Linked DNA regions of Homo sapiens: all the other regions are linked to region 1. The links are contacts of gene promoters, found by promoter capture Hi-C in blood cells and fetal thymus (Javierre and others, 2016). All regions are on one chromosome and are shown on one strand. The core of a region is centred on a gene start or on the middle of the fragment in contact, and the rest is flanking DNA. Distances in the headings are between cores, read along the strand shown. Region 1 holds the start of NABP1 (nucleic acid binding protein 1). Region 2 overlaps CCDC150 (coiled-coil domain containing 150). Region 3 overlaps HECW2 (HECT, C2 and WW domain containing E3 ubiquitin protein ligase 2). Region 4 overlaps HECW2 (HECT, C2 and WW domain containing E3 ubiquitin protein ligase 2). Region 5 overlaps HECW2 (HECT, C2 and WW domain containing E3 ubiquitin protein ligase 2). Region 6 overlaps HECW2 (HECT, C2 and WW domain containing E3 ubiquitin protein ligase 2). Region 7 has its middle 11 kb from the start of STK17B.

What was found. The method cuts DNA at HindIII sites, captures the fragments that hold promoters and counts their contacts. A CHiCAGO score of 5 or more calls a contact.
Region 2: a fragment that was not itself captured here is called in contact with the fragment with the promoter of NABP1 in region 1 in 2 of 17 cell types (non-activated CD4 T cells and naive CD8 T cells); the score reaches 7.5 in non-activated CD4 T cells.
Region 3: a contact is called between a fragment that was not itself captured here and the fragment with the promoter of NABP1 in region 1, in 3 of 17 cell types (total B cells, activated CD4 T cells and non-activated CD4 T cells). The highest score is 8.5, in total B cells.
Region 4: a fragment that was not itself captured here is called in contact with the fragment with the promoter of NABP1 in region 1 in 12 of 17 cell types (monocytes, total B cells, activated CD4 T cells and 9 more); the score reaches 23.6 in monocytes.
Region 5: a contact is called between a fragment that was not itself captured here and the fragment with the promoter of NABP1 in region 1, in 6 of 17 cell types (total CD4 T cells, total B cells, non-activated CD4 T cells and 3 more). The highest score is 10.3, in total CD4 T cells.
Region 6: a fragment that was not itself captured here is called in contact with the fragment with the promoter of NABP1 in region 1 in 1 of 17 cell types (naive CD8 T cells); the score reaches 5.3 in naive CD8 T cells.
Region 7: a fragment that was not itself captured here is called in contact with the fragment with the promoter of NABP1 in region 1 in 7 of 17 cell types (non-activated CD4 T cells, total CD8 T cells, naive CD4 T cells and 4 more); the score reaches 10.5 in non-activated CD4 T cells.

The regions. Positions count from the first base shown.
Region 1 is chr2:191,676,086-191,680,394 of GRCh38, forward strand. It overlaps NABP1 (nucleic acid binding protein 1), which reads left to right and starts at 2,051. Exons shown (of 6, transcript NM_001031716.5): 1 at 2,051-2,620; 2 at 2,905-3,043. The coding sequence starts at 2,530. RefSeq lists enhancers at 1-9, 1,603-1,682, 1,892-2,394, 3,222-4,309 and silencers at 1,743-2,092, 2,693-2,752. The HindIII fragment of the contact is 1,958 bases long and covers 513-2,470 here.
Region 2 is chr2:196,640,760-196,645,068 of GRCh38, forward strand. All of the region lies in intron 1 of CCDC150 (coiled-coil domain containing 150), which reads left to right. Among named protein-coding and RNA genes, the nearest start is that of CCDC150, 3.2 kb to the left of the region's middle. The HindIII fragment of the contact is 153 bases long and covers 2,426-2,578 here.
Region 3 is chr2:196,276,512-196,280,820 of GRCh38, forward strand. It overlaps HECW2 (HECT, C2 and WW domain containing E3 ubiquitin protein ligase 2), which reads right to left. Exons shown (of 29, transcript NM_001348768.2): 15 at 2,017-2,151. Among named protein-coding and RNA genes, the nearest start is that of HECW2-AS1, 19 kb to the left of the region's middle. The HindIII fragment of the contact is 362 bases long and covers 1,972-2,333 here.
Region 4 is chr2:196,240,776-196,245,084 of GRCh38, forward strand. HECW2 (HECT, C2 and WW domain containing E3 ubiquitin protein ligase 2) reads right to left here. Exons shown (of 29, transcript NM_001348768.2): 20 at 1,309-1,429. Among named protein-coding and RNA genes, the nearest start is that of HECW2-AS1, 17 kb to the right of the region's middle. RefSeq lists an enhancer at 434-483. The HindIII fragment of the contact is 2,772 bases long and covers 1,124-3,895 here.
Region 5 is chr2:196,216,314-196,220,622 of GRCh38, forward strand. HECW2 (HECT, C2 and WW domain containing E3 ubiquitin protein ligase 2) reads right to left here. Exons shown (of 29, transcript NM_001348768.2): 26 at 3,726-3,840; 27 at 695-780. Among named protein-coding and RNA genes, the nearest start is that of HECW2-AS1, 42 kb to the right of the region's middle. RefSeq lists a silencer at 3,239-3,439. The HindIII fragment of the contact is 4,378 bases long and covers 1-4,309 here.
Region 6 is chr2:196,198,888-196,203,196 of GRCh38, forward strand. It overlaps HECW2 (HECT, C2 and WW domain containing E3 ubiquitin protein ligase 2), which reads right to left. Exons shown (of 29, transcript NM_001348768.2): 29 at 1-2,501. The coding sequence ends at 2,390. Among named protein-coding and RNA genes, the nearest start is that of STK17B, 29 kb to the left of the region's middle. The HindIII fragment of the contact is 8,632 bases long and covers 1-4,309 here.
Region 7 is chr2:196,180,793-196,185,101 of GRCh38, forward strand. No RefSeq gene overlaps it. Among named protein-coding and RNA genes, the nearest start is that of STK17B, 11 kb to the left of the region's middle. The HindIII fragment of the contact is 255 bases long and covers 1,805-2,059 here.

The DNA of each region.
Region 1 (4,309 bases), core at 801-3,300:
TGTGGGGCTTGATTTTCTGTGTCTGATTTCTTTTTATAAAATGTTCATATAATTAGCCTGAACAGCCCAACCTAATCCCTTTTCTGGGGGCAAATGATTGAGAGTTGAGTGGCAAACTTTCTTTGCCCAAACTCTTGGCCGTAACTCTTAACATTCTTAATTGGTTTCCTGTCTATTCTTAATCTTTTGAAGATCTTGTCAAACCTTAAAAAAAAAAAAAAAGAGCTCTGCCTTAAATATTGCTTCTGTGAGAATATTTTGCCTGTTTAAGAAAATACAGCTTTGAGTACAATCCAATTGAAGTGTCAAGTCCTGCCAGATAACCATGGTAGAATTAGAGCTTCTGAGCTGGATTGGGATTGAGGTTGGACGCTGGCTCTGCCATTAACTGGCATGTTTCATCATTTGTTTTATTTGATGTTGAAATTATGCTTATAATTTTATTTTACACCACTTTCCAGTATGACATCAGTGTCTTTGGCACCTTGGGCTTTATTAGTTCATGAAATGGAAGCTTCTGTTTCCTTAAAAATGCCTTGACTCTCTTGCTAATGTTGTGATAATGTTTCCAACTCTTTCTAGGGCTATAATATCTATGCTGCTTGTTTGCAAATACTTGGGAAGTGGTGGTTGATCTAAAGATACTCAGAAAGAATGGGGAGAAAATTAAGGCTTCTGACACTTTTCCCAACATTTCTGTTATCATCACCAAGAATTAACTAGATGATTCTTTAATGCCCCACTACTTTATTCTGCTATTTTATTTCTTCAGTCTGTTTTTGACTCTTATAATGACACCACTGGAAGTTAAGTCTAAACATTACCTTTAGGCTGGAGAGCTCTGGGGTCAAGATTGACTAGATTTAAAACCCAGCTCAGCCATTCTCTAGCTATCTGGTCTCTGGTGAGTTCCATCGCCTGTAAAACGGGGATTAAAAAGGGGAAAATACTGAGTATGTACTATTTGCTAGGCACTAGTTGGACAATTTATGATCCATTTAATCAATCTTCTGCTAGGCAGGGATCCCCATTTTATTATGGTTAAAAAGCTGTAATAAAAGCCAATTGACCTAAAGCTCTCACAAGTAAATAGCTGGAGCCCAGGTTTGTCTCTAAAGCACATGCTCTTTTCACTACGCGACATAAAAAAAACTTTATTAATCTTTTTTTCCAGATTATGTTTCAAGGGTTCCCACTGCTGTTGAATAATTAATTCCTTTTAGATGTACAAAAGCAAGTGCAAAGTAAAAGAAGAAAAGCTAAATGGGGAAGGTGTGTAATATGAGAGGCAGGGGGTAAGGAAAAATGAGAAGTCTGCAAAGGAATTTACGTCCTATCTGCTTAGCATTACACAGTGGAAGCCCACGTCAGACATTTGTGTTGCAGTCCTGCCTGCTCAGGGGTTGCTGGGTGACCTTCTGCAAATTACCTCATCTTTCTGGGTTTCAATTTAAGTATGCCTGAAATGAGGCGGTTGAATTGATCTCCAAATTCCCTTCTGGTGCTAAACTTCCAGCCTTGTAGCCACTGACGCCTTCACCATCCCAGCCTGTTTTCCCTTGGTACCGGACCAGCTGCCCTTGCCCGAACCCTGTTCTTCCTCGACTGCGAACTTTCTAACGTACTCACAGGTTCTAAACTCTACCGTTCCTCGTGACCGAGGGACTAAAGGGCCCGGGCAGGGGCTCAACTCTGAGAGAAAAAAAGGCAAGAAAACTCCAAAGTTGGACAGCAAGCGTCAAAAGACTGCACAGCAGGAAGGCGAAACCGAACAGAACTGCTGCTGCGCGGCGACAGCTGAAGTGGGTGGAGAACGGGAGGGCGGGGGAGGCGGGGCCGAGAGCGATTGGAAGGACGAGGGGGCGGAGCCCGCGCTGACAGCCCCCGGGGAGGAGCGAGGGAAGCTCTGCGGGCTGCGGCGGCCGGGTCCCGCCCCTTTGCTTCCCCTCCCCAGCACCAGGCGGGCGTGGCAGCAGGCGTGCCGACGCAGCGTGACTTCACAAGGGGAGGGGCGGGCCGAGGGTCCTGCCGGCGCGCGGGCGTGTTCATCAGTCGCTGTTTGGGACGCTGGGTGTGCGGTGTTCTGTCTCCGCTCCCGTTTCGCTGTCACAGCCCGTTCCTTCCCGGAGCCCGGGACAGGCTGGGCGCGCGCCCGTGTGAGTGAGCGGGACTCAGGGCAGAAGTGTCCCCTCACTGCGTTTTTTTTTCCTTTTATCCAAAGAACGGGGCAGTTAGTACGCTTGCCTTCCTGTCGCCCGGTTGGGAGCGGGGTTGGTGTGCGGAGTGGTTCGCCTTTTTTTCTTTAGAACTTGTGAGCCTTTTTTTTTTTTTTTTTTTTTTTTCTTTTTTTAGGCTCAGTGCTGTCCGGGCTGGTTTGCCCGGTCCCTGACTAACGGCTTTCTGCCCCTTCTCTCGCCACCCCTGCCCAAGGTCGCCCCTCTGCCTTCGCCCCTGTCCCGGGAGGGTGGGAAGCTTTGACCCCGCCCTGCCCACTCGCGTCTCCGCAGCCGTAGCCGCGCCTGTCCCAATATGAATAGGGTCAACGACCCACTTATTTTTATAAGAGATATTAAGCCCGGACTGAAAAACTTAAATGTCGTCTTTATTGTCCTGGAGATAGGTAAGTGGGGTTTGCAGCCTACTCCACCGCCCGCTGTGCCTCCCGGGGCGGGAGACAGGGGCGCCGGCCGCTGCGCGCCCGGGGCTCCCCTCCTCCTCCCTCCCCTCCCCCACCCACGTGGCTCTAGTGGCCTCCGCCCGAGATCGGATCCTACCTGAGGCGGGAGCCCTGGGCTTGGTCACTTCCCACCTTCCAGATGTATTAAAATACCGGAGGAGGAGTTAGCCTTTCTGGATGTCCTCATTATCTAACAACCCCTCCCTTTGATTTTTAAATCCTCACAGGACGCGTGACCAAAACCAAAGACGGCCATGAAGTGAGATCGTGCAAAGTAGCAGATAAAACGGGCAGCATCACTATTTCCGTGTGGGATGAGATCGGAGGTCTTATACAGCCAGGGGATATTATTCGGTTGACCAGAGGGTAGGTGTGCAAAAAAGTCGGGGGACCTAACAGTCTGCAGAATCGGGATTGGCCGGCTCCTGGGATCTTGGCAAGCCCTGAAGTCCCCCGCCTTTTCTGTGGGCCACTCTTGAGGAGTTTTGAACTCCTTTGGTGTTAACTTTGGGTGGTGGGCAGCGCTGGGATGTAACAGACCTTTGCAGTGAAAGGCAGTCGGTTTCAGCTGGGAAATCCGCGCCTCTACCCCGGTTTACAGGTTAAGTAGATTTTTAATTATTATTATTTTTTGGGACCGAGTCTCGCTCTGTCGCCAAGCTGGAGTGCAGTGGCGTGATCTCTCCTCACTGCAGCCTCCGCCTCGCGGGTTCAAGAGATTCTCGTGCCTCAGCCTCCCAAGTAGCTGGGACTACAGGCGTGTGCCACCACGCCCAGCTAAGTTTTGTATTTTTAGCAGAGACGGGGTTTCAGAGTGTTGCCCAGGCTGGTCTCCAACTCCTGACCTCAAGTGATCCGCGCGCCCCAACCTCCCAAAGTGCTGGGATTACAGGCGTGAGCCACCACGCCCGGCATAGATTTTTAGTTCTATTCTGAGTCAGTGAGTCTTTTTAGGAGACTGGTATAGTCCATATTTTTTCTTTTTTATAAGTTGTTTTCTCTAGTGTAGTTGCCACTCAGTTGTTTCCCACCCCTTCTCCATTTTTAATGACTTGAAATCCTGGCCAGTATTTTACATATGTTATTTAGAAATGTGGACATAAATGAAAATTATAGGTAAAGGATTTAGCATATTCTGTGATATGTCAAATTTGTACTTGGAAAAAGAGGGAAACTTTACAGTATCTGGAAGGCTCATTCTCCAAAATGATTTCTTGTGTCTTCTGCTGTAAGGTGGATGTTGCGCAAAAACCAAAGGGATACACAGAAAATGTTTGGCAGAAAGGCATCTACAATACCTTCATCCAAAAGAGTCAGTTGGCGGATAGGTGGCTTTAAAAAATACTAGAACTTTTTTTTTAAAAAATAGATTGCTTTTAGAAATTTACCAAATTTTTATCTTAGGAAGATAAAAGGGCAGAAAAGGATCTTAAAAACAGAATTTGGAAGCTTTTGAGATCAATAAAATTGTAATAATTTATCATTAACTGCAGGGAAAGTGGTGGAGATTGATGTTGGCCTAATAAGTAGAATCTTAGAAGTATTGGAAAGCACTGAGAGTAGGAGCTTAGAGCTCCTTGGTGTTACCTTGCAGGCTTACAACATCTTCAGGAAGTGAGGTAAAGTGTCATC
Region 2 (4,309 bases), core at 1,252-3,751, 5.0 Mb after region 1:
AGGAATACCGCTGCTGTCACCTTGGTTCTGGCCAGCAGCATCTCTACTTCTGCTTTTGTTCTTCCACCATTTGGAGTGGGAGGGAGTCAAAATGATCCAGTTAAAAGGAAAGTTGGATAGCATTCCTCAGCTATAGACCTCCAGTGACTCTGAGAATCACTGACAGCAAAAGCCAGACTTCTACAATGGCCTTCAAGGCTCTGTGTATTCTGTTTTTTGTTTTTTTGAAACGGAGTCTCGCTCTGTCGCCCAGGCTGGAGTGCAGCAGTCTCAGCTCACTGCAAGCTCCGCCTCCTGGGTTCACACCATTCTCCTGCCTCAGCCATCCGAGTAGCTGAAACTACAGGAGCACGCCACCACGCCCGGCTAATTTTTTTTTTATTTTTATTTTTGTATTTTTAGTGAGACGGGGTTTCGCCGTGTTAGCCAGGATGGTCTCGATCTCCTGACCTCTTGATCTGCCCGCCTCGGCCTTCCAAAGTGCTGGGATTACAGGCGTGAGCCACCGCGCCCAGCCGTATTCTGGTTTTATTATTACCGTCTGACCTCATCTCTCAATGTTCTCTGTGTTACTCCTTCCTCTCCAGCCAAACCCACCTCTTTATTATGTGCGGACTCATCAGACCTTCTAACTTCAGGCCTTTGCACTTGCTGTTTCCGTCTTCTGGGCCTTTCTGCCCTCTGATATCTATATAACAGGTCTTTGCTCAAATGTTATGAGGCCTTCTTTGACCACCCTGTTTAAAATGAAAATCTGCCCTGTAGCCTCCATACCATGTTCTTTCCTATTTCATTTTCCTCCTTTGCACTTATCACCAATAAACAAACTATGTATTTTACTTAGTGTCTGTCTTCTTCAGCTGGAATATAAGCTCCACGAAGGCAGGGAGTTTTGTTCGTACTGTTCTACCCAACCCCTGCCCCCCGCCTCATTGCCTATAACAGTGTGTGGCTCATGGTAAATGTTCAGGAAATATTTGTTAGATGTGTGAGTGAATGAAGACAGTGTTACCATATTATTTTCTAGTGGTTGTGATAAACAACATTGACTCCCTGGACTGTTATTTTGGAACCAACAGCATGTACTTGTATACGCTTTTGCCAGTGTACACCTATTGCCAGGTGTAGGAATGGAGCCTGTGTCCACAGAAGCATGTGTTCTCTTTTCAAAGTCATCTGGTTTTTACTAGTATATTACTTGTGACATTGGTCTTTTTCTTGCCATGCTTTCCATAAGGTTACCTGCCTAGAAGCTCTTTGGAAATATTCTCCCTAAACATCAAGACAGAATTCTGTTAGTTTGATAATAATATATGCATAGAAATTAGTTATGAATGAACTTTTTTAAAAATAAAAGTTTATATCTCAGTATTTTTATTATTGTTACTATCAAGCGTTAGGACTTAGGTTCAAGGCAGCAATCAATATTTGCTCCTTTTCAAACACAACAAAGCACAGATATGTTAAAGCTGTTGTCTCTTTGCTAGAATGTCAGCCATTAGAGGTAGATTGTTTTCATGTAAGACTGTGCTTCTTAGACTATGAGCCATAGAACTATGACTTATGAGGATCTGCCAAGTGGCCATTGGAGAGTGTGCGTGTATTTATGTATGTAGGGGTGTGGGTGGCATTTCTGCTACCACTGCTTTGGGCCTACCAGATGGGGAGGACAGGCAAGGGTATGAGCAACTGCAGTGAAAATGAGAATCTCTCTCTAACTTTAAGCCCCAACTTGGTAGATTAATTTACTGGATTGAAAGTTCTTATCTCATACTTTAACAGCCTCCCAGATACTCGGGGACTCTGCCTGGTGGCTTTAAGGCTGTCCTCTTGCTACTCAGCCATTACCGCCCCCTCCCTTGCTTCCAAGGACTCTCCTGACCTTGGCATTGTTTGGTTTTTGTTTTTGTTTTCCCATGGCGGGAAGTGGAGGTGGTGGTTGGGAGGGAAGGTTTTTAACTAACCCTGAGACTTGTTTTCATTTTTTATTTTTTTTTAGAGACAAGGTCTTGCTTTGTCACCCAGGCTGGGGTGCAGTGGCACAATCATAGCTCACTGCAGCCTCTACCTCCTGGGCTCAAGTGATCCTCCTGCGTCAGCCTCCCAAGTAGCTAGGGCTACAGGCACAGGCCACCATGCCCAGCTCATTTTTAAAAATTTTTGGAAGAGAATAGGGTCCTGCCATGTGGGCCAGGCTGGTCTGGAACTCCTGGCCTCAAGTGATCCTCCCACATAGGCCTTTCAAAAATGCTGGGACTACAGGCATGAGCCACTGTGCCTGGCCATGAGATCTGTTTTTAGTAAATCCCCAAAGGCTAGATTGGCTTATTTAATTTTTGTTTCAGCAACTTTGATGACCTGAACAGGATTCTCAGCGATTGACTAAGAGGATATTTTAAGGACAACACCATGTATTTCACTCAAAAGCTTTGTGCCCTGCCAACCATCAATCAGTGTCCGAGTCACCTCAATCTCCCCCTTCTTAGGGTGAATTTTCTATAAACCTCCTTCCCCTCAGAGGCTGGGCCAAGTTGGTTGCTCCTTTTTGAAAGTATATTTTCTCTATGGAAGCCTGAGAAGCTTCAGTGTAGAGCAGGGTCGGGTGGCACTCAGTGTGGATGCAAACCAAATTCCTACCGCGACATGTTGGACCTTCTTTTTTTTAAAACAAGTGAAGCAATTTAAATGATTTGCTGTTTTGTTTTCATGGCTGAATGTACACATGTCCTGGAGAGCCAATGTAAGCATTTAATACAGATCATAGGTTCCTTAGGGAAATATCAACAAAACTAAACATTTGAACAATTACATGAAAAAATTTTAGTTGGGAATCTGCATCCTATTCAAAATATGTGGGGGAGCTTCTCCATTTCCATTTTTTTCCAAAGACAGACTTTTGCAATATGAGTATTAGTATTATGTGCTTGGCTTCTGATATAAATGAACATAGACAAGACTCTATATTATAACCAGCTACCTGGGTCTAATAAATTGCCACAGAAATTGTTCTCCCTTCCCCTCTCCAGCACTGCTTGTCATTTTTACTTCTTCCTTCTACTTGTTTTTCCACCAGCTAATGCCTGGGCCTACTATATGTAGAAGAAAGTGACTAAAACAAACAAAAAAAAGTTTTTTATCTCACATAAGCAGAGTTTGAAGATTACTGGTTTTGCCCAAGTGTCAACATAGTCTGAGGTTCTCTGTCTTTTCCTTGTGTTTATCAGACACTGGTGATCCTTGGCTCTTCGTTTATATTTGAGAGTGAGCTGCTGCATACCTGACTGATGGAACGCTCTGGGAATTGTAAGGGGGTAGGAAAAGACAGGTGCCATCATTACTCTTTTTTTAATCTAGAAAAACAAAAGTCTGCCTAGGAGCCCTTTTGCAAACTTCTGCCCAAAGTCTCTTTGGCCAGAATATATCACATGAGTGTGCCTGCTGAGGCGAGGCTGGGGTCATGAGCTTTTCTGCTTCTTTTGGAGAGAGGACAAAGGAGCTGTGTCTGCGCACACCCTATTAGCCACCCTTTCCCTAGGTTTTCTCCCCATCTTTGGCATGATTTATCTCTAGGTCAGTAGCTGGACAGCAGGTGACAGAAAATAGAATGGAGGTGTTTCTCCATTGTTACCCCTCCATTTTTTCCCCACCCAGTGCTGTTGGTGGCTCCACCAACTGCAGCCCTGGTTTATGGCAGCTGATCCAGCCCGACGGGCTTACTCAGAGGCTCTTTCGTTTACTACTTGAGGAATACTATACTGGCTCATGTGGTAACATTACCAGGAGTCTCCACATCAGTTTTTTTTTTCCCAGAAATGTAGAGGAGCCCCACTTCGAATATTTTGCGTGTCCAGAGACTGCATCAATATCTGCATGTCTTTGTCTTTCCTTCAGGAATGAACTGAAAAAAATGAAAGTTAATTAATAGAAGGGAGCTTCTTTCACCCCATGTCCTTAAGCTGACTTAACAACAAATCTAAAGAATGCAAAAAGCTTGTGTCAAAAAAAGTTTCACAGTAGGGCATGAAAGAAAAATTCTGGTCAGAAACACCATAGTAAGAGTAAAAAGAAAAATAGGCTGGGCGTGATGGCTCATGCCTGTAATGCCAGCACTTTGGGAGACTGAGGCTGGCAGATCACTTGAGGTCAGGAGTTTGAGACCAGCCTGGCCAACATGGTGAAACCCCGTCTCTACTAAAAATACAAAAAAAAAAAAAATTAGCCGGGCATGGTGGCACATAACTGTAATCTCAGCTACCCGAGAGGCTGAGGTGGGAGGATTGCTTGAACTTAGGAGGTGGAGGTTGCAGTG
Region 3 (4,309 bases), core at 903-3,402, 4.6 Mb after region 1:
TGTGAAGTCATGATAAGGTGAGTGGTTAAAGGGCACGGGCTATGCAATAAAATATCAGACAGAGCCCTAATTGTGCTACACATCGCACACAAGGTCCAAAGGTGAGAGGTCTGTTCTGCTTTTAAGATGAATGTTGTTAGTGCCATTCAGTTCACCACTAATGGGTTACATGACAGCAAGGTAAAGATTTATTAGCTACTCATAAAACAGAAAAATTTTTGCACATACCTCATCCTGTAATATATTTGTATATCATTTTTATATGAGCTTCTCATGTGCACCCTTCTATATCTGCACTTACAACCAGCAAACACATGATGCATTGGAGCAAGTATATAAATCACGAGGGGAAATTCCAAGAGTAGAATTTTGATGAATCAGATCCAGTTATTTATTGTATTCATATTTTTTCTTATACAAAATATATGGCTACAAAGATATTTGATGTACAATATAATACTGAAAATATGACATGCACATAGACACAGAAAAGGCATGTAAAGGTGGGTAAAGGATCCAAATTCTATTGTCTAAGGGAATTTTCAGAAACAATGTAAATCAAGTGATGGTATATAATCAAATCATAAGCCCATATGAAGGAGAAGAAAACTTGACTTAAGACATTTCTTTTATATATTGAAGCTGCAAAAGGAAGAACTGAAACAAGGTTTGTTCTTTTTTTTGGTTAGGATATTAGAGGGCCCTCGTGTGGTTACCATTGGTCCCTGCAAATCGGTAAAGTAGAGCAGTTTTTAGTAATTCTTAGTTCAGCCCTTTTTCTCCAGGCACATAAAGTATATAAATCAACTCTCTCAAAAATATCCTAATTTTAAAGAATACTAGTGAGGATTCCATAATCCCATATCCCTGGATGGATATTTTAATGTAATATAGAAAACTTCACTTAAGAAATTCTATCATCTCATACCAGTTAGAATGGCAATCATTAAAAAGTCAGGAGACAATAGGTGCTGGAGAGGATGTGGAGAAATAGGAACACTTTTACACTGTTGGTGGGACTGTAAATTAGCTCAACTATTGTGGAAGACAGTGTGGCGATTCCTCAGGGATCTAGAACTAGAAATACCATTTGACCCAGCCATCCCATTACTGGGTATATACCCAAAGGACTATAAATCATGCTGCTATAAAGACACATGCACACGTATGTTTACTGTGGCACTACTCACAATAGCAAAGACTTGGAACCAATCCAAATGTCCAACAATGATAGACTGGATTAAGAAAACGTGGCACATATATACACCATGGAATACTACGCAGCCATAAAAAATGATGAGTTCATGTCCTTTGTAGGGACATGGGTGAAGCTGGAAACCATCATTCTCAGCAAACTATCACAAGAACAAAAAACCAAACACCGCATATTCTCACTCATAGGTGGGAATTGAACAGTGAGAACACTTGGACACAGGAAGGGGAACATCACACACCGGGGCCTGTTATGGGGTGGGGGGAGGGGGGAGGGATAGCATTAGGAGATATACCTAATGTAAATGATGAGTTAATGGGTGCAGCACACCAACATGGCACATGTATACAAATGTAACAAACCTGCACATTGTGCACGTGTACCCTAGAACTTAAAGTATAATTAAAAAATATATATATATATATATAAAGAAATTCCACATTTAACCAAGTTATATTCATTTCTTCCTGTGAGGCTGAAAATGGGTGTGCAAATGGGCTTATCATCTTCCTGTCTCGAACATTTTAGTACATTATCAACACCCTCTCACCTTCCTCTGAGTCAAAAAATCTTAAATTTCGTCAGTTTTGCCTCATATATCCTACCTTTTTAAATTTGTGATTTAGGCTGTATGTATTTCCAGAGAAGCCCTGTCAACATTCGAAAGCTTTTCAGCCTCTAAATCAAACTCAAAAAAAAAAAAAAGAAAAAATGCTTTAAAAAAATCAGTCAAATTCCTCAAACCATCACATACTAGAAGCTTCTATCAACCAACAGGTCAGTCCCCAAAACGCATGACTCACCTCACCCGCACTGTGGCTGCGTTGCCTTGTCAGGTGTTGCCGATGAACCAGCGCACTTGTGGGTCTACTGCTCTGAAGTGGGAGCCGGGGATCAATGAAAGTGGTGGTGCGGGAGTTGTGGTCCACAAAGAATGCCTAGGATACAATACACTGAGTCAAATACATGCCGCTCACATGTCTTAGCTGACTTATAACATCAGACGGTCAGGAAAAGACTCACTTCTGAGTCACAATCTTAGCTCTATTTTCTCATAATTTTCAATCTTTGGGGAAATTTCTCCTTACCCACACAGGACAGATCAGATTAGAGAAAGCCAAGCTTAGATGAGATCCAGAACGAAGAGAGCAGGAAGGAACATTATGCCTGGTTTTAGGAAATGCTCCACGAGATAGTCACCAAAGACATGATCCAAGAAGGAAGCCAGAAGAATGGACATTTAGGCTTCTCTTAACTGATGGTCTTTGAGCTCTTACTGTCATATGTGGTTATTATAAAGTTCTTACCACCTTGAAACTTAAAAAAAAAAATTTTTTTTTTTGAGACGGAGTCTCGCTCTGTCACCCAGGCTGGAGTGCAGTGGCGCGATCTCAGCTCACTGCAAGCTCCACCTCCCAGGTTCATGCCATTCTCCTGCCTCAGCCTCCCGAGTAGCTGGGACTACAGGCGCCCACCACCACGCCCGGCTAATTTTTTGTGTATTTAGTAGAGACGGGGTTTCACTGTGTTAGCCAGGATAGTCTCAATCTCCTGACCTCGTGATCTGCCTGCCTTGGCCTCCCAAAGTGCTGGGATTACAGGCGTGAGCCACCGCGCCTGGCCGAAACTTTTAAACATCATTGACTTCTCTTCTTTCTTCCTTCTCCTATACAGTAAGCCACAAAATCCTTCTCATTTTCTCACTGTAGTGTCCTCTATTTGTCCCCTCCCAGCCTGAACACCACCCCATTATTTTGGGACTTTATTTTATGTGTGTAAGTGCTGGTGGCTTCTCAGCTGCTCCACATCTCTATCACCATAGTCATTTAACTGGCCCGTTACTATAAGAATATTCTTTCTAAACACTTCAATTACATCACCACCCCAATACAAAGCTTCTCATGGCTATCCATTGTCCACAGAAAAGACATTCCCACTCTTTGGTCAGTTTTTCATTACTCTTTAACAGTCTGCCTACATGCCTTTCCAGTTTAGTCGCCCATTACACACCCATACAAACTCATCACATACCGTCTAGAACTTTGGGTAAGTCACTTAAGTTCTCTGAGCTATATGTTTCTTACAAAAACATGTCTCCTTCATTCCTGACATTTCTCCCCCATAATGTGTTAGAAGAATGGAAGCCATGTCTGTCATGATCACTGCAGAATCTCTGATAACATGAAATCATGAATGAGCATAAACCATTTACCTCAGCATTGCAGTAAGATGGACTACAATGTAGCAAAGCATTTTTTGGTCTGTTTGTTTAATTCTAAAACTATACAAGTGCTATCTATCATTATCCTTAGGGGCCCAATGTTGTAAGTTTTCAAAGTAAAATTGACTCAAGGTAATAATGAAACCCATTATCTTAAGTACAATTAGAAATTGTAAGTTTTCCATGATCAGATAGTTAATTAGGTCATCAAAGATGAAAGAGGCTATTAGGAGAGCCAGGAGACTCAGTACCTATAAACCAAGTATCAAGGCACATGATGTATGCCAAATAACAGGCAAAAAAGAACTGACCTTTCAAACCAATGGAGCTCAGTTAACAAAGTACCTTAACACCTAGAGATGAAGGTATCTAGGCAAATGCCAGAGGCAGATAGTATATTTATGCCTATTTAGAAACCTATTTTCCCATTATGGAACAGAATGTTTCATATGGAACTCTATGTACATCATCAAGAAATGGGGCAGGTCCCATATAGAAAACATTTTTACATCTTTATAAAGAAATAACTTTAAGCAATGGATGTACCAGAAAACAAAGCAGAAAAATGGACAGAACAGGAATCTTTCCCAGTCCTTTCTCTTACTATCCAATTCTGGGTACAAAAAAATAAAGGTTTTGTGTGAGATTTTGTCATCAGCCTCACATCCTGGGTAATGTTTCCTCTTCACTAACCTTGAGTGAAACATCCTTCTTCTCAGGTCTTGTAAAAAGTACTCCAGTGATAAAACCTGTGTGGACTTGCATTGACAGGTTCTGACCCCAAATGTCACATTGGTCCCATTTGGTTTGTGCTTCTAATACAATTGTCCACTATTTCTGCCACTACTCAAAATGTCATAAAATAGCAATTAAAC
Region 4 (4,309 bases), core at 1,260-3,759, 4.6 Mb after region 1:
CTACCTATGACCAGTGTAAACAACCGGAGAATCCTATCTAAATGGTCAAATCAGTTTATCCCAGAAAAAAAATGATCATAAAACAACACCACACACACCACACACACCGCCCCCCGCCCATACATTTTGTTTAGTAAAGCAAGAACAACTCTATGAGGCAATGTTTTAAGTCTCAATGCATGTAGACAAGGAATTCAATTATTAAGTGCCCAGCAAGATGACTGTGAGAACAAAGAGGAAAAAAAAAATTCTCAATATCCTCCAAAGCAGAGGAGTTTCCAATTGTTAATTGTTAAATTAAGTGAATCTTGACAGTCCCTAAGGGACAGATACAAATGAATGATGAGTGTGGCAGGTTAATCTACTTGTGATGATGCCAATTAAAGTCATCCTTCCATAGATATCAATTTGCTCTTAATGTAAATGGTAATGGGCAGAGAGATGATAGGGAGGCTGAATGCATGACAGCTGGATCATCCTAGACCTTTGTAAGTTAAGTGTGAGAAAAGTAAAGCTCAGAGAAGTATGGTGTTTGGGCAGGCAGATGATTTTTTAGGGCAATGAAGGTGGATTTTAATCAAGCAAGCCTTCCTGCAGGTGGGGCAGTGAGCCATGGGGCTGCTGTTGGTCTGGTCTCTGGACCGTCTCTCAGGCACCCAGGGTCACAGGGGTGCTCCAGTGGAGACCGTCCCTCCTCTGTCCTCTCTCAGTGGCAGACTGATCTCCAGTGGGGACGTGGGACAGGGGTGAAGGCAGGGAGGAGAGAAAGAAGGGTAAGTAGGGAATGGAAACAATTCTAGGCCAAACAACATGATGATGTTTCAGTTTCCCCATTTGAAAGGAGGAGATGGATGAAGAAAGGCCGAAACAACATTCATGACATGTTCTGCTGTGAAGTTTGTTTCACAGAACTGAACAGAGCTGAGCACTATTCCTACACTCAGGTCAGTTCAGGAGACAGAAACTTGCAGTGGAGGACATTGGGATAGCTTTATAGCTAATGAATATACTATGCACCAACAAAGACATACTTTTCAGAGGAAAAAAATAAATCAGCCTTTTATTTTGCCTTTATTTTTGCATGAAAAGTGGCAGTGTCTTCACTATTTGTTTTAAAATGTTAAGCTTAATCATGTTTCATTCCAGGACTATGTTTTAGATGATCCTATAATTTACAAATTCCAAAATAATTATGCCGACTAAAATGAAGGCTAGTCATCCCAAATCACAATCAATTTCCTAGAGGCCCAACTGTGCCCTCTCCTTTCACCATCTATACATTATGTGGTTTGTGTCACTTTGACTTACTTTAACTTCCCTGGGCCTTGTCCATATCCTTTAGTCTCTAACTTCCTGTAAAAGTTCCTCAGTTTGGCTTCGAAATCCCGCTTGTAAGGGGCTGGAGCCCGGGCATTGGCACGCTGGGTACCTGCAGCAAACCACAAAGAGAGGACAATCTGGATTTGTGCCTCGTCCTTATGTTCATCACATCACCATGGACAAAAGCTATCACAATCAACAAGTCAAATGAGGCAACTGTCTTAACTTCTGCATTTTTGATTTCTGCAAGTTGAAGGATATAACAAACCTCAACCAAGGTCTTAAGTGACGTCCTCTTTGTGGCATTTTGGTTGAGAATAAAAATTCTGTTTGAATAGTTACAATGGTGCCCATGTGTTTCTCAAGTATGTTCCCCTTTTCAGTCGAAACTAATATGAGTCAAACAGAGTTACTCATGTCTAGTAGTAACTGTTAGGATGAAATGTCTTTGCTTGCTGCTGAAATGATATCATGGCAATTAGACAGGAAGTTGCAATGGAAAGTACATGGTATATAAGTAAGTGGCACCAAGAGTGAGGTTTTAATCATTCACTCTAAATTCCTCACCAAAAAACTCCTCATGAAACTTTTTTTTTTTTTTTTTTTTTTTTTGAGACGGAGTCTTACTCTGTCACCCAGCAGGCTGGAGTGCAGTGGTGCAATCTTGGCTCACTGCACCCTCCGCCTCCTGGGTTCAAGTGATTCTCCTGTTTCAGCCTCCCAAATAGCTGAGATTACAGGTGCCTGCCACCATGCCCAGCTAATTTTTGTATTTTTAGTAGAGACAGGGTTTTGCCATGTTGGCCAGGCTGGTCTGGAACTCCTGACCTCAGGTGATCCACCCACCTCAGCCTCCCAAATTGCTGGGATTACAGGTGTGAGCCACCGCACCTGGCCTACAAAACTTCTTTTAGATATGCACTATCACCAAGAATGATTTTAGACACATAATTACATAAATCTCATATTGCAGGGTAAAATCTTAATATAACACATAATTGCAAAAGGCACCTGTCTCACTTGCACAAAGTGCGCACTTGCACAAAGAATAAATAATATTAATATTTATTGGATTCTTTTTTTTTTTTTGAGACGGAGTTTCGCTCTTGTTGCCCAGGCTGGAGTGCAATGGCACAATCTCAGCTCACCGCAACCTCCATCTCCCGGGTTCAAGTGATTGTCCTGCCTCAGCCTACTGAGTAGCTGGGATTGCAGGCATGTGCCACCACGCCCGACTAATTTTGTATTTTTAGTAGGGTCATGGTTTCTCCATGTTGGTCAGGCTGGTCTTGAACTCCCGACCTCAGGTAATCCACCTGCCTTGGCCTCCCAAAGTGCTGGGATTACTGGTGTGAGCCACTGCGCCAGACCATTTATTGCATTCTTAACATGTGCCAAGTACTGAGAATATCTAGATTATATAAGCATATTTTATACGTTATTCAATGGTAATTATCACTAATAATATGTAAAAGTAACATTGTTTCTCTTTCCTTTTTTTTGACACGGAGTTTTGCTCTTGTTGCCCAGGCTGGAGTGCAATGGTGTGATCTCGGCTAACCCAACCTCTGTCTCCTGAGTTCAAGCGATTCTCCTGCCTCAGCCTCCCGAGTAGCTGGGACTACAGTCTTGCACCTCCACGCCCAGCTAATTTTGTATTTTTAGCAGGGACGTGGTTTCTCCATGTTGGTCAGGCTGGTCTCGAACTCCTGACCTCAGGTGATCCGCCCACCTCGGCCTTCCAAAGTGCTGGGATTACAGGCGTGAGCCACCATGCCCAGCCAATTGTTCCTCTTTCCATAGAAAAATCTGGTTTTGTGTCACTGGGTAACACAAGCAGCAGGTTGGGATAGAAAACTGATGATGAATATGGAAATCAGACACAGAGCCATGACAAAAACACTGGATATTTCCACTAAATATTTCCCAACCAATGAAAGAAACCAGAAAACAAAAGCTGGGAAGTCTTGTTCATTACATACCATGTAAGTTCATTAAAAATGTCTCTAACAAATGAGTGAACTAAATAGTTGTTATTCATTGGGAATACTATGTTAGGTTCACCAATGGATGTCCAAAATGAGTAAGGTGGGGTTGCTGGAGTGGGTTGGGGAAACAGAAATAAAACATCAAACAATTAGAGAATAATTAAGTCCTGAACTAGGTATACAGACTAGAAAGCAGAGGAAACAAAGCTATACCCCTGGGGCTATACCTAGTCCTATAGATCCCAGTTGCTTGCCCCATAATCTTTTTTGAATATTTTAAATTAATTGCCAACATTTACAAATTAAATTTCAAATTTAAAAATTCCAGATTTTTCTCTTGAAAATTATTTGGGAAATCTTGCAATGACTGGCTTGCATTTCCTTGGGGATCCAGCGGGCAGCTGCAGCTACTCTGTTAGACGAGGCATGAGCTCACCACTTTGCGGCAGCCACTCAATGACATGGCTGCCTGCCCCCCAAGCCCCGCAAGCATTTGTTAAGATCAGTGTTACACAAAAGTAATAGTAATGTTATAAAAAAGAAATGAGTATAAGTAGAGATCAAAGTGGAAAAGGCCTTAGGGAGGAAGCTTAATTGGAACCACACCTTGCAAAAGAAGGAGAATTTATATCCTAAAGTGGAACACAGCAGCAACAGCTGGCATGAGCACTGCATGTGTGTTCAGAAGACACCAAGAGAACCAAGCTAGCCTAGAGTGGAGGAGGAGTGCTGGGAGTAAATGGGAAATGAAATTGATCAGAAGGGTTGGAGCCAAATTATGACAAGAATTTTTAAAACCTAGCAGAGGAGTTTGGGCATGATGCAGTGAACAGTGCCTTTATAGGTTCTTGAGCAGAAGAATAACATACAAATGGTGTTTTATTTAAGAAATTATTTTCAGAGTGTGTTGAGTAAATTAAGGGTGGGCAAGAGGAAAGAGCCCCAGTTAGGAGTTGTTGCAGTAATTGAAGCCTGAGGGGATAAGGACTAGACTGGAGTGA
Region 5 (4,309 bases), core at 873-3,372, 4.5 Mb after region 1:
GCATCAGTCCTTGATCAATGTCGGGTGAATTTAAAAAAGAGAATGTCTGGGCCTGCAATTTTGAGGCCCAGACCCTTAATCCAAAGGAGCTAAGATCCAAAGGAGCTAAGAGTACTTGTAAGGCTCTGCCTGAGCATCCAGAGACTTCCTTGTGTCTGGTATTTCTATAGCTGCAACTGATCAGTAATTGTCCTGGATGACCATAAACACCACACGCAAAAAAAAAAAAAACACAAGTTAGTTTTCCCACTGTTCTTGAATGTCACTGTTTTCTCAAATTTGTGGAAAGTTAGATGAAAGAGAAGAAAGGACTGTCAACTAACTGCATCCCTTTTTAAAGAACTTAAAATCATTTCTTTCTGCTGCTAGGGATGCCGGCCTGCACTTTGGGTACCCTGGGTGCTTCTTGCTGAAGGGTCCAAGCTGTCCTGAAGGCAGATGTTGTTACTGGGATTCTTGGACTGGACTTGACACTTCCCTAAACTCTCATGAAATGCTTTAAGTTGGCTTAGGGAAGTTCTGAATAGCCATGGAGTCACATAACCATGCAATCAGGAGTCTGGAAATGGTGTATCTCATATTTCCAGATACACATGGTATGTGTTTATGGAGAATAGTTAGCAGTTATTAAAAACATACACTTCCAACAATAATCATATTGATACATTTAAAAGATTAAATAATGGCATCTCACCTGTAACAACCTTAGTCGTTGTTCATTGTTGAATCTTTCCACTGCAGCCCAGAACCACCGAATTACAATATGATTGTCATGGTATCCTATCAAACCAATCATAAAAGCCCATGTTACTTTGACTCTTCTATATTAAGCCACCAAGATACGTGACACGAAGAGTCCCCAGACATAAATCATCCTCTTGAATTCTTTACAAGTTGTCTATAATTTTAAGACTAAGGAATAACACTGTATATATGATCATATGAATGTCAAAAGTTAAACAAAAACAACATTAAGTGAAACCAAGAGGTCTCTGTTTTCATTTAACGGTCACTAAGTGAAACTAGTAAAGAGAAGAACAACAAATGAGTTATTTTAACCATATCATTTCTGTAAAATACAACAGTTGTTACTGGAAATACTTAACTCTTTCGGTCATTCACATAAGAAATAATTTTCAAATACCTCTATGCCAAGCACTGTACCAAGGTTGGGGGCATAATGGCAAAGAAAACAGACCCTCCCAGGGCTTCTGGCAGAGGGGAGACACATTAATCAAATAATTTATACAAACAAATACATAACTGCAAGCTCTCTTAAAAGCTATATATAATATTCATACTTTAAAATCAACTTAGTTTCACATTGACTTACTAATAAAAAGGGAAAAGTGACCTTTAGTTCCTTAAATAAATCCTGAGTAATCACCAACTTAATTTTACTCTTATTCCATACTTTAGTAGAATTTAAGAAAATGTCAAAGGAATCACCTCATGGGCAGTGATGATGGATTCCAAAAACCTTTCAGTGAAAACAAAAATTAAATTCAGAGAAAAGGCTAACAAGGATTTAGTGATTCAAACCAATGAATAGACATAGTTAATGGGCACTGAGTTAGTAGTCCAGAATAGAAGGCGGGTAGAAATTATTTTAATCCAAATTTTTCCTCACATTTCAGTAGTTGTAGGATTTGGGAGGAATCTCACCTTACTGTTTACCATTTCAGTGATGTTTAGTCCCCTTTGGAGAAAAAAAGGATCAAAGAGAAGGCTGATCAAAACTGGATTGAACATGAGGACACATGGGCCATGCCCAGAGTTTGGTGAAGACTAGCAATTTGGTACTGAGCAAAGTTTCTCATCTACAAAAGAAGTGCACTGGCTCTTTGTAGCTTTAAAGTTTTTTGACCTTATGAATTAGCCCTTTTCTGCTTCCCTTTTGCTATTTGTGCCAAACCTTTTGGAGGAAGAAGAGTGAATGTGTCTCATCATATTCTCTCCTAGCAGCTGGGGTGTGAACATATGGCAGGTGGCAGCCACACAGCCGCTTCTTTACTCAGTGCCAAGTAGCTGGGTGAGCAAACATGGCAGCTGAGGTTCTCAGCATTTTTCTTCCCCCTCCCAAAGATTTCATTTGATAAGATTTACAATAACCATATAAATAGGTCCTTGATTAGTCAGATTTAGTGAATAAAATTTTATGCCATGAAAATACAAAAATGGCTGATTCTATTAATGCATTGCTATTAGAATCTCCTGGGTCCGGGCGTGGTGGCTTACACATGTAATCCCAGCACTTTGGGAGGCCAAGGCAGGAGATCGCTTGAGGCCAGGAATTCGAGACCAGACTGGCCAACATGGTGAAACCCCATCTCTACTAAAAATACAAAAATTAGCCAGGTATGGTGGCATACACCCTCTGTCTGAAAAAAAAAATTCATCTCCTGGAAGGAAAGAATGAGCTAATAATATTTATGGTAAAATATAACTTATGTAGCATGTCAGAGAAATTGTGCTCTCAGTAAAAATCGATGGGTTAACAACATTATAATAACCAAAGAGATACATGGATTATACTTGGGCCAACTGGAAAATACTTATTTCAGCAATTGGACTTCAGAAATAGAAGCAATGGAAACTGCAATTAAATACAGCCTTTCAGATTAAATGTGTGAGCAAGGCCAGCCCATGGTGCAGGGATGAGCTGGAACAGGCAAGCACAGGCATAACCAAAAGCAATTTAGCAAATGTTAAGGCATTTTTTTACTACAAACTTTTAAAACTACCTTTTTTAAAAAAAATCTCTGCTTCAACTTAGAGATAACTAGAGAACTGTTCAGCTCTCAATTTACTCTGCTAAGTGATTAATTCAGTGATGTTAGGTTTGTAGTTTTCATTCTCCAAGTTCAGAACTACTTCTAATCTCTTATACTTTGAGTTAAAAAACAAAACCCAAAGGAGAAAACAACTGGTATTTGTCATGAATTTCTGAAGGCTTCCTAACATGGTGATAATTTTCAGAAAATGTATTCTTTGCTTAAAATTATTTAATAAAACCTTAACTCTGGGTTACCACCAGGTCCCTTGCAAAGTGTTGGTTTAACACTCAAATTTCAATGGCTTTGGTCCCAGTTACTAATCAATAATTTGTACTGATCTGCAGAAGTGTCACTTTTTTAGCTTCCCATTTTGTGAAGTGTCAGATAGTGCAGTTTTTAATTAATCTTACTACAGTCTTCTTTTCACTTGAAATTCATGCTTGAATTTAGAACTTCTCCAATAATGTTGTATTTTGGGAACTGTGTCTTATTCCATTCAAGTGTTCTGACTATGAATTACAACTGATAAGGAGCGTAGTGAACAGTGGAAAAACTGTGCTGATTGGGAAGCTCAAAGGGTGTGCTTTTCTAAGTTTTAGAAACAAAATGGAATAGGTGGAGTTTGACCAGCTGGATGTTAGCTCCTTGGTGCTTCACTGACAACACGATAAAGTAATTAATTAGTGTTCTTACGGTCACATTTCCTCACCAACAATTAAGAGTTATGACATCCTTTGACGGTGTGTAAACAGTCCTTCTCCCATCTGACAGATGAGGTAATTAGGAAAAGAAGAGAATGTACCTTGCCCAAGGTCTCAAGGGAGCCTGCATCAGACCTATGATTAGAGTCCAAGTGCTGTTGCCTGTCCTATATTCAGTTGGCAAGCTGAACCATGCCTTCCTTTAATTTGAAATTTAAAATCTAGCCATCTATAAATCAAATTTCACCTCCTCTATATTCTGTGTTGTTTCTCCAATCACTTAGGTCTATTTCAGCTGTGCCTGCGATGACCAATTCCAGTTCTCTTGCATCAAAAACAGATACCAGCCTGGCATCCACCACCTGTGGAATAAAAAGAGTACAAGGCATGGCTTAGGAGCCTGGAGAAATATCAGCTATAATTAAGCCTTAGAAAAGGGGACACATGGAGTTTCAGGAATAATATGTGTGTACCTTGTGTTGGCACTTGAAAACCTGTAAAGCTCCCTACAAATATAAGGCATTCTTTAGTATAAGGTTGATGAGATTTGCCTTGACAGAATTTTTGTTTTATAATTGATTGCTGATTAATCTAGGTCCCGTCCACCTTTAGGAAACTATCTAGTGTTTCTACAGAAAAAGTCACATACAATACATGCCAACTCATTCTGATCTCAGATATAATTATTTCACATAGCAAGCATGAGATTTGATTACCCATATCTAAGCATAAGATGCATGGCTTAAATGTTACTAGTGGTCATTAAATCAACAAATGCTACTTGAATGCAGTCCATAACATTTATTTCAGTGATCTCTCGTAACAGTGAGT
Region 6 (4,309 bases), core at 484-2,983, 4.5 Mb after region 1:
GAACAGTATCAACTAGATGATTATACTAATTAAGAATGTCTACATACATTAAAGTGTACTGTTATTTGGGAAAAAGTTGGATGCCTTAATAAAGAAATATATTTGTTAGAAATAATTAAAGAGATACATTTTATTTCAAATATCTTTTACCTAATAATATGAAATACCATAACTAAATGTCTCAAACCAAAATGAAGGATAACATGGTCTTTGAATGTATTTTTGAAAGAAATGCAACCTTTATCTGCTGCTTGGAGAATGCCAGCCCTGAAACATCTTGTATACCATCAAATATGTGACTTAAAAAAAAGTGTGTTATACTACTTTTCCTTATAATGAAAAGAATACAAACAAGTGAAAAGTTTGCAAAATTAAATATATACTTGTATTCATGATCAATAAGTACAAACTAACATTTCCAGTTAAAAGTTTTTCTTTTTTTCTCTTCCAATTATAGAATACAGAGAGCTCTTCCTTTCTTATTTCCAGATTTCTATAACCCTTTTTCAGAACATTTCTTCACACTGCAGTACGTGCCTTTAGTGCAGGAGTGTAACATAAGTGGTATTCCTCTTGAGGGTCCCAGTAGTAAACATAGCTTAACTCACAGGAGAGCAATCAGTTCTTACAAAACACCTATGAAAACTATGCATATGACCTCTATAAAATGTAAGATTGCCAACATCCCATAATAGGAATTCCATGGCTGCTTATAAATATAGATCTCAAAGAAATGTTTGGGCAATGCCTGTAAACCCATAGGCTGGCAAACCATATGTCAATCCAATGCTTTTATGACCCCCAATTTAACTTCACTCTATTGAAAATCTGATTAGTCAAGAAATAAACAAAGATGTGGAGTAATCCCAAAAGCAATTAAAATGAAGAATACCTTCTCATAAAATTAAGCAGAAGTAAGACTAGTGATGTCATGCAGTTTTGGAGATGCCATAGAAAAACTGTCTCTTAATATTAATAAGAAAATTATGCATCAGTGAAAATGCAGGCTTAGAAATATAGTTCTGAGTTTCAATTTGTGGTGTCTTCACTGATGAGGGAAAATGGAATTCTTACTACTGATCTCTTCAGTGTTGCTGATGGCTCCTTAACTGAGCTTAGTGTTTAATGATGCTGTACAAATAAAAAGCAGTGGGGGAAATACGAAATATCTGTATTAAATGCCATCCTGTAAAGTATTTGATGGATGGAAGAGAGTCTAATGCATTTTAAATAAATGCATATCATACTATCACATATAGTGAATCTTAAAAAATTATTACTTAGATGCACAGTCCTTGTAGTGGTAGACACGGCACTGTGAAGGAAGTTTGATTTAGAAGCTATTTTCTATTATACTTCTCAAGTGATGGAGTTGCTGTTAGTCATATTGTAATGTCCCTTCACCTTTGGTACATTCAGTGCAAAATATTTGGGGAATTTTTTTTACCTTTATAAAAATAAAAGGCCCTTTTGTTTCCTTGAGAGTGCTTAAAAGGATACATATTAGCATGATGCCCGAGTATGCATGGAACATGAAAATGGAATGAGTGATACATACAGCATGATAGGTAGGTTCTTATATACATCTTAAAGAACATAAACATAATGAACCTACAAAAAATAAACAGAACTCACTGTGTACTTTTTCCTGATATGCTGTGATTAATTGCTAGTTATTTTAAAATTGTTTTCATGCATTATAAAGCATAAAATCTGTCATTAGTAATTCACTGAATAATGGTTTGTCTTTAGCCATAATTACACACATACCACTTGCATATACATTGTCACAGACCATCTTATTGCAAATCTGTAAAGGTACCTCATATTGACTTGGTTTCATTTTCACTCATGTCCCATGAAAGCGGAAACCTATGGTGCACACCATGCAGGCACTCATAAGCAAGAAATGAATATTCTGTTATAACTTAGGGCTTAAATGAATGTACTTTCAGGAAATATATTTACTTTTATTATATTATTTAACTTGCTCTAATTTGGAGATTGGGCCAAATGCTGCCAGTTTGGCTTGAACCACGTTCAAGGGTAAGTTTCAAGATTCTCCTGAGTCCCTAAAAATTACCGTGGAGCTGATCATGTATGGGTTCATCTTTGTCTTGGAACATAACAAATGGAAAAAGTTTGGCAGTCAAGAACTGTTGATTGAAAGACGGTTGGGTTGTTCCCTGGGCATCAAGCTCACCCAAATCCTTCCAAGAGGACTCATCTCCAGTCCCCAAATGTGACAGAGCACTTGTTCCTGGAAAACAACAGCACATAGCTTTATCCTAAAGGAAGCATCCTCTTGAAACTTCCAATGTTCAATCATTCTTCTAGAAGGCAGCTTCTGAACCTGCCTGTCCACAGAGATGGGCATTCAGCTTCCAGGTCACTCAAGTCCAAAAGTACTGGTTTCTTCAACTGCTGTCAACAGTTTTTCATAAAGCATGGAAAAGGATGGGTAGGGAGGCAGATCCAGACGGTTAAAACATGTATGCGCTCTGAAAACACAAGAAACAGCACATAGTTTAGAACAGGCCGAGTGAAATGAAAATGTGTGTGGTGTGTGTGTGTGTGTGTGTCTGTGTGTGTATGACTGTCTTTCACATTCAAATTTATTTGTTGCCAATTTTCACACTCCTTTTGAAAAATCTTTGAAAACATTTTGACCTTAAAAATTCAGAACTGAATTTCTCTAAGGAAAAGAGGATATTTAAAAAAATATTTTATTTACATTTCACCACCATTTAAAAGCTATATTACATATAAATGACCATTTATTGAGTGGTCTAAGGATTACAAAGACAAGTTTGGTTTTTGTTTCTCTTTTGATGCTAGATTTTTTTTTTAATACACGGACATAAGGCCTTGCAAAGTAGTTCATTTTGAGTTGGCATATGCCTGGGTGTCTCTTCGATACTCTGTAGTTATGCATTTTTTCATTTTCTTGGACAGGGAAGAGGAGCCAGTGTCTCTGAGGGCCTGCCTCATGGCTTAGAGTCTTGGGAAATTCCCTGGCTGGACTTTTCTAAGTCAGTAGGCCATTGTTACTTCTTTGAATCCTGTGCTAAAATTTGCTTTCTCCCAATTCACAATAACAAAATAAGCAATTTAAATCATTACATTAAGTATTCTTTTTTAGAAATACTTCTTTTGCCAAGATAGGAAAAAAATATGTTTTCCTGTTATTTGCATCTGAATCACAATAAAAAATAGACAGTCTCCAAATAGTACATCTTATCAGGAAGCAAATCTGCACTTTTGACATGAAATAGGAAACATTCTATTCTGAATGTACAACAGCTTGTTTGGGGGACCTACATAACTTTGACTTAAAAAAAATACTCCTGAATAAGAAATTTTAGGAACTATGATTATTAACAAGCTATTTCTACAAAGTCACATGTCTATACTTTTACTCTGATAAATCCCTTTTCCTTATGAAATAAATATAATTAATATTCCTGGATGCAGTGTAATGTAGTGGGAAGACCAGAGATTTGCAGTTGGACATATTTGGGTTTGGATTCTAGCTCTATCAACAAGTGTGTGATTTGGAGTGAGTTATTAAAACTCTGAGCCCGTATTTCTCACCTTTAAAAGGGTGGTTATATAACTTGTCTGAGAAGGATGTGAGGATTAAGTGAAATAACAGAAACATGCTTAATAGAATGACTGGCTCATAGTGTTTGACCAATTAATAATAGAGGTATTGTTAGCTACATTTCATTACTATCAACAAGATTTGACTCTAATTGCCTTCAGTGAATTGCCACAAATAGTAATGACCCATGAGAATGATGAGATAATAAAGGGATAATAAAGCAGGTGTGTGGCCACATGGCTTATTAAAAACAGGAATGTGAACAGGATCTGTTATATTGTAAGAATACAGATAGAGTATTCCTTATCCAAAATGCTTGGCACCAGAAGTGCTTTGGATTTCAGATTTCTTTGGAATTTGGAATATTTGCATATATATAATGAGATATCTTGGGGAATGGGACCCAAGTCTAAACATGAAATTCATTTACGTTTCACATGCACCTTGTATACACAGACTGAAGGTAATTTTATACCATATTTACATAATTTGGTTCATGAAACAAAGTTTTGACCGCGTTTTTGACTGCACCCTGTCATATGAGGTCAGTTGTGAAATTTTCTACTTGTGGCATCATGTTGGCACTCAAAAAGTTTTGGATTTTGGAGCATTTTAGATTTAAAATTTTTTGACTAGGGATACTCCAACTGTATGAGTTTTAGGGTATAGAGATAGTACCGACTCACCCACTCCTAGTACTGTAAA
Region 7 (4,309 bases), core at 682-3,181, 4.5 Mb after region 1:
TGTCGTCATCTTCCCCTGAACAATCCACAGACATGACTTTGGATGTTTTTCCTAGTTATCTTGTCCTAACTTTGGTTCTCCAGCCTGGATCTCCTTTCTATGAACTACTCAATATCCTTTAAATACATTGTTTTTCAGCTTCAGATATCCAGAGATGTTTAGTTGCTTGCAATTAAGAACTCTGACTGGTCCTATGAAAAACTGATTTCTTAGTTAGCTTCTGTGGTTATATATTTTGACCACTTTTATATTAATCAGCCTTTCTGAAATTCTACAAATAAACCATGGTTAACCAAAATAAAAAGAAAGCAAAATAAATGTACCCTTTGTTTTATCTGCCATAGAAAACGAACAACAGCCAGGCACGGTGGCTCATGCCTGTAATCCCAGCATTTTGGGAGGCTGAGGCAGGAGGATCACTTGAGGCCAGGAGTTTGAGACCAGCCTGGGCAACATGGTGAAACTGTCTCTACAAAAATAAATAAATAAATAAATAAATAAATAAATTAGGCAGGCATGGTGGCATGCGCCTGTAGTCCTAGCTACTCAGGAGGCTGAAGAAGGGGGACTGCTTGAGCTCTGGAGTTCAAAGTTGCAGTGAGCTATAATTGTGCCGTTGCACTCCAGCCTGGGCAACCCTGTTTAAAAAAAAAAAAAAAAAGAAAAAAAGAAAACAAACAACAACACAAATAAGTTAAAACATCTAGCTTTTTGAAAGATGAAAAAAAATGTTGGCCTTCTACTCTGGCTATACATTTTTACTTAGACTTTGGAATTGTGATCCAACTTTCAACAAGCAGAGTGTAAGATTTTCATTGTATTACTTCCCAGCTGTGCAATTTCTATAAAATGGGCAAGAGGCTCTGAAGAGAATGCCTGGTGACGCCATGCCATGTGCTTAGTTCATTATAAATCATTTCAAGTACCTCCAGCCTCGCTGAGCCAGTCAAAACAGAAATCTTCTAACGCATTTGAGAGAATCTTGTTTTATAGAGTGCTTAAGAGAGGCATGAAAAGCATACTAGATTTCAAATGTACCAAATTATCCAGAAAGGATTTTGGAACTGGTTCCTATTAGGTTACTTTTCATTATTATTTAATACGACATATAAAATATAACGCTTTTCTGTTTGAGCTGCTAGTGCCTGGAATGGTTCTGCCTTCTACAATTTCGCAAGCAAATTTTAACGCATTTCTATTCTAGTCTAGTTACTACCTTATTGCTAGACATCAAAAGTGAAAAGTGTGCAGGTCAGTTGGGCCCTTCAGATCTTTCCATTTCATGCTAACTCGAATTATTAGGGACTTAAATTAATTTTGACTAGAAAAAGCATCTTCTTCTACAGTTGAAATACTACCACAGATGAAGGATTCTTTGAAGCAGCGTCTTGAAATAATTTAGGGAAAACGTACAAGGTGAGCAACCCATTGCTATTTCCTCTCATCTCCAATTTCCACAGTTAACTTCTCAGCAGAAAGGCTTGTGTATAGTAGAAATCCACAGACAAGCATAAATTAGTACACCCCACCTTGAGAACAGGTTGAGAAATTTAAAAACTGGCACATGGAATGACCATTGTTAAGCTATTTCTTGCAAGCCTAAACTACAGATGCACCTTTTAAAATATGAGATGTTTGAGCACTTGACAGATGATTATCTTGGTCTACTTGAGAGAAGTTCCACAGGCATAAAATCAGTTGTCTTTATTTCTTCCTGTCTCTCACCCAGGCCTTTTTTTTTTCTTCCTGCTAAGAACAGGAAATTGCAGAAATAAAGATTTGATCAGTCGCCATTAATTCAGTAAGCTTTGTTTAGTTTAACCTAAGCTAACAGCACATTTATAATTTGCCCAAATAAATCACACAAATTATCAGAATAGGCTAGTTTTGTATATAATTATCTCTTAATCACCAGTCCTTGCGTTCTTCTTCTCATTAAGCCTGTCTCTGAGGAGGTTGTCCTTTCACAGTAAAAATAGGCAATACCTTTGAGACACTTTCTGTTACTCATTGACCTAGAAAAATCCCCTCTAGTAGCTCAGTCCTGAGTAGGTCTGAAAGCTTCTGGGTCAATCACACATGCTGAATGTGGCACAGGATATATTAATATTAATAACACTTGATGTCTGTACAGCATTTTAGTCAATATAGAGCTTTCACATGCAATGACTTATCTGAGCCTCAACAGTCTGGGGATTACTGTTAGCAAAGCTAGTGTTATCCCATTTTACAGATGAGAACAGAGGTCGTGAGAGTGACTTGTCCATCAGAGGTCAGGGTTCAGTCTAGGGCTGAAGACTGTGGGCTCTTTCGAGTGACCCCTAACAGAGAAGACTCTCCAGAGAGCACACTTACCTGAGACATGCTTTCTCTTTTCTCTCACCCCACCCCTTGCCTGAAGCATTATAGGAGCCCTATGACAGATCAGCTGCGAACAATGCAGAAGAAAGGGAAACATAATTTTTCTGGAGGACCCAAAGTCCAGATGGCAAGCCAGACCAAGCCCCACGGCTGTCTTACCTGCAGGTGTGTGCAGCACCAGAAGCCCCAAAACAGTGTTCACATCTCCCCATCTGGCCGGGCCACACTCACTCCCTGCTGTGGCCCAGATTGCCTGAGGAGGTTTCAGGTGGGGATTTAGGAAAATCAAGAATGATTTGCCACCTAAAGTAATAAGATTTAGCACAGAACTAAGAATTGCAAACCAAGAGCTAAGGTTAGAGGAAGATATTTAAGAGAAAGAAATGTACTTGCTGTTTTTAAAAGTTGACATTTCTGTAGTAAGAATGAAGAACTAAGAGTACAAATAATTAATTGTTTTTACAGTGAAATGACACAGAGGAATGTTCTAAGTAAAGCGGGGCAATACATTTATACGCAAGGTGCAATGTATCCGTCATTTTATTTAATTCTTGGAACACAACCTTGAATGGTTATTCTCACTTCTCAGATGAGGAAACCCAGGCTTACAGAGTTTGAGTGACTTACTTAAGGCCATATAGGGAGTGAGTGAAGACAAAATTTGAACTCAGATTACAAATCCCATTTCTTTTCAGGATACTGCACTACAATCCAAGTACAGCTTACCTGTTCTCACTTTTATTTTCCATTATGTCCCATCTCTGTAACTCATTATTCAAATAAGTTTATATTATTATAGTGGGAACCTACTTATCTGGTTATCTAACTTCTAAGGAACAGGAAGTAGGTCAAAACTCTTCTGAGAAACATAATAGATGTTACAACGTTCACATGTGAGAAGATTCTCCTTGGCAGCCATTCTGTCTTTCAAGTATACGCTGTAATTATTTTGGATGTTTATAGGACTGCAATGATAGGATACTGTGGGAGCTTTCCCTCTGATCTTCCAATGACTGGCTGCTCTTCCAACTTCAGTTCTCATCTTAAATGTTACATCCTCTGAGAGGCTTTCTCCATCCCTTGCTGCTCCCTGTTCTTTATAGCACTTTTTATAACCATTGGTAATTATGGACTTATTTGTTTATTGCCCATCTTCCCCATGACATTGTAAACTCCCCAAAGGCAGGAAACATGGCTGCTTTATTCAGCAGTGTTTCCTAGCACTTATGGTACCTGGCACAAAGTATGGTAAGTGTTCATGGGATGGATGAAAGAATGGACAAAGGGACATGCAGAAATATGTGGTTTTGTCGTCTGACCTAGGGAAGACTGGATTACGTTTTGAGCTAGGGTAGCTCAATCACCCTTTCCATATAAATAGCCTTGAGATTTGGTGGCCTCCCAAAGACAATAGACAGGAGCTATGAAGCCAGTCCACTGGGACAGGAGGAGGAAGGAAAGTAACATCTACTGAGCCCTTAACAAGTACAAAGCAATGAACTATTAGAAGTAATGGTGGCTGGGTGCGGTGGCTCAATGGTGGCTCATGCCTGTAATCCTAGCACTTTGGGAGGCCAAAGCAGGTGGATCATGAGGTCAGGAGTTCAGGACCTGCCTGGCCAAGATGGTGAAACCCCGTCTTCACTAAAAATACAAAAATTAGCCAGGTGCAGTGGCAGGTGCCTGTAATCCCAGCTACTCGGGAGGCTGAGGTAGGAGAATCACTTGAACCCCAGTGGCAGAGGTTGCAGTGAGCCAAGATTGTGCCACTGCACTTCAGCCTGGGTGATACAGTGAGACTCCGTCTCAAAAAAAAGTAATGGTAAAACCCACAATTACTCTTGCACCAACCTAATAGCTGTACATGGACTTATTTAACATAAAAAGCACTGCAGGAGAAAGAAAAACACCTATTTTACAAATGAAAAAAGTGAGACTTACACTGGTG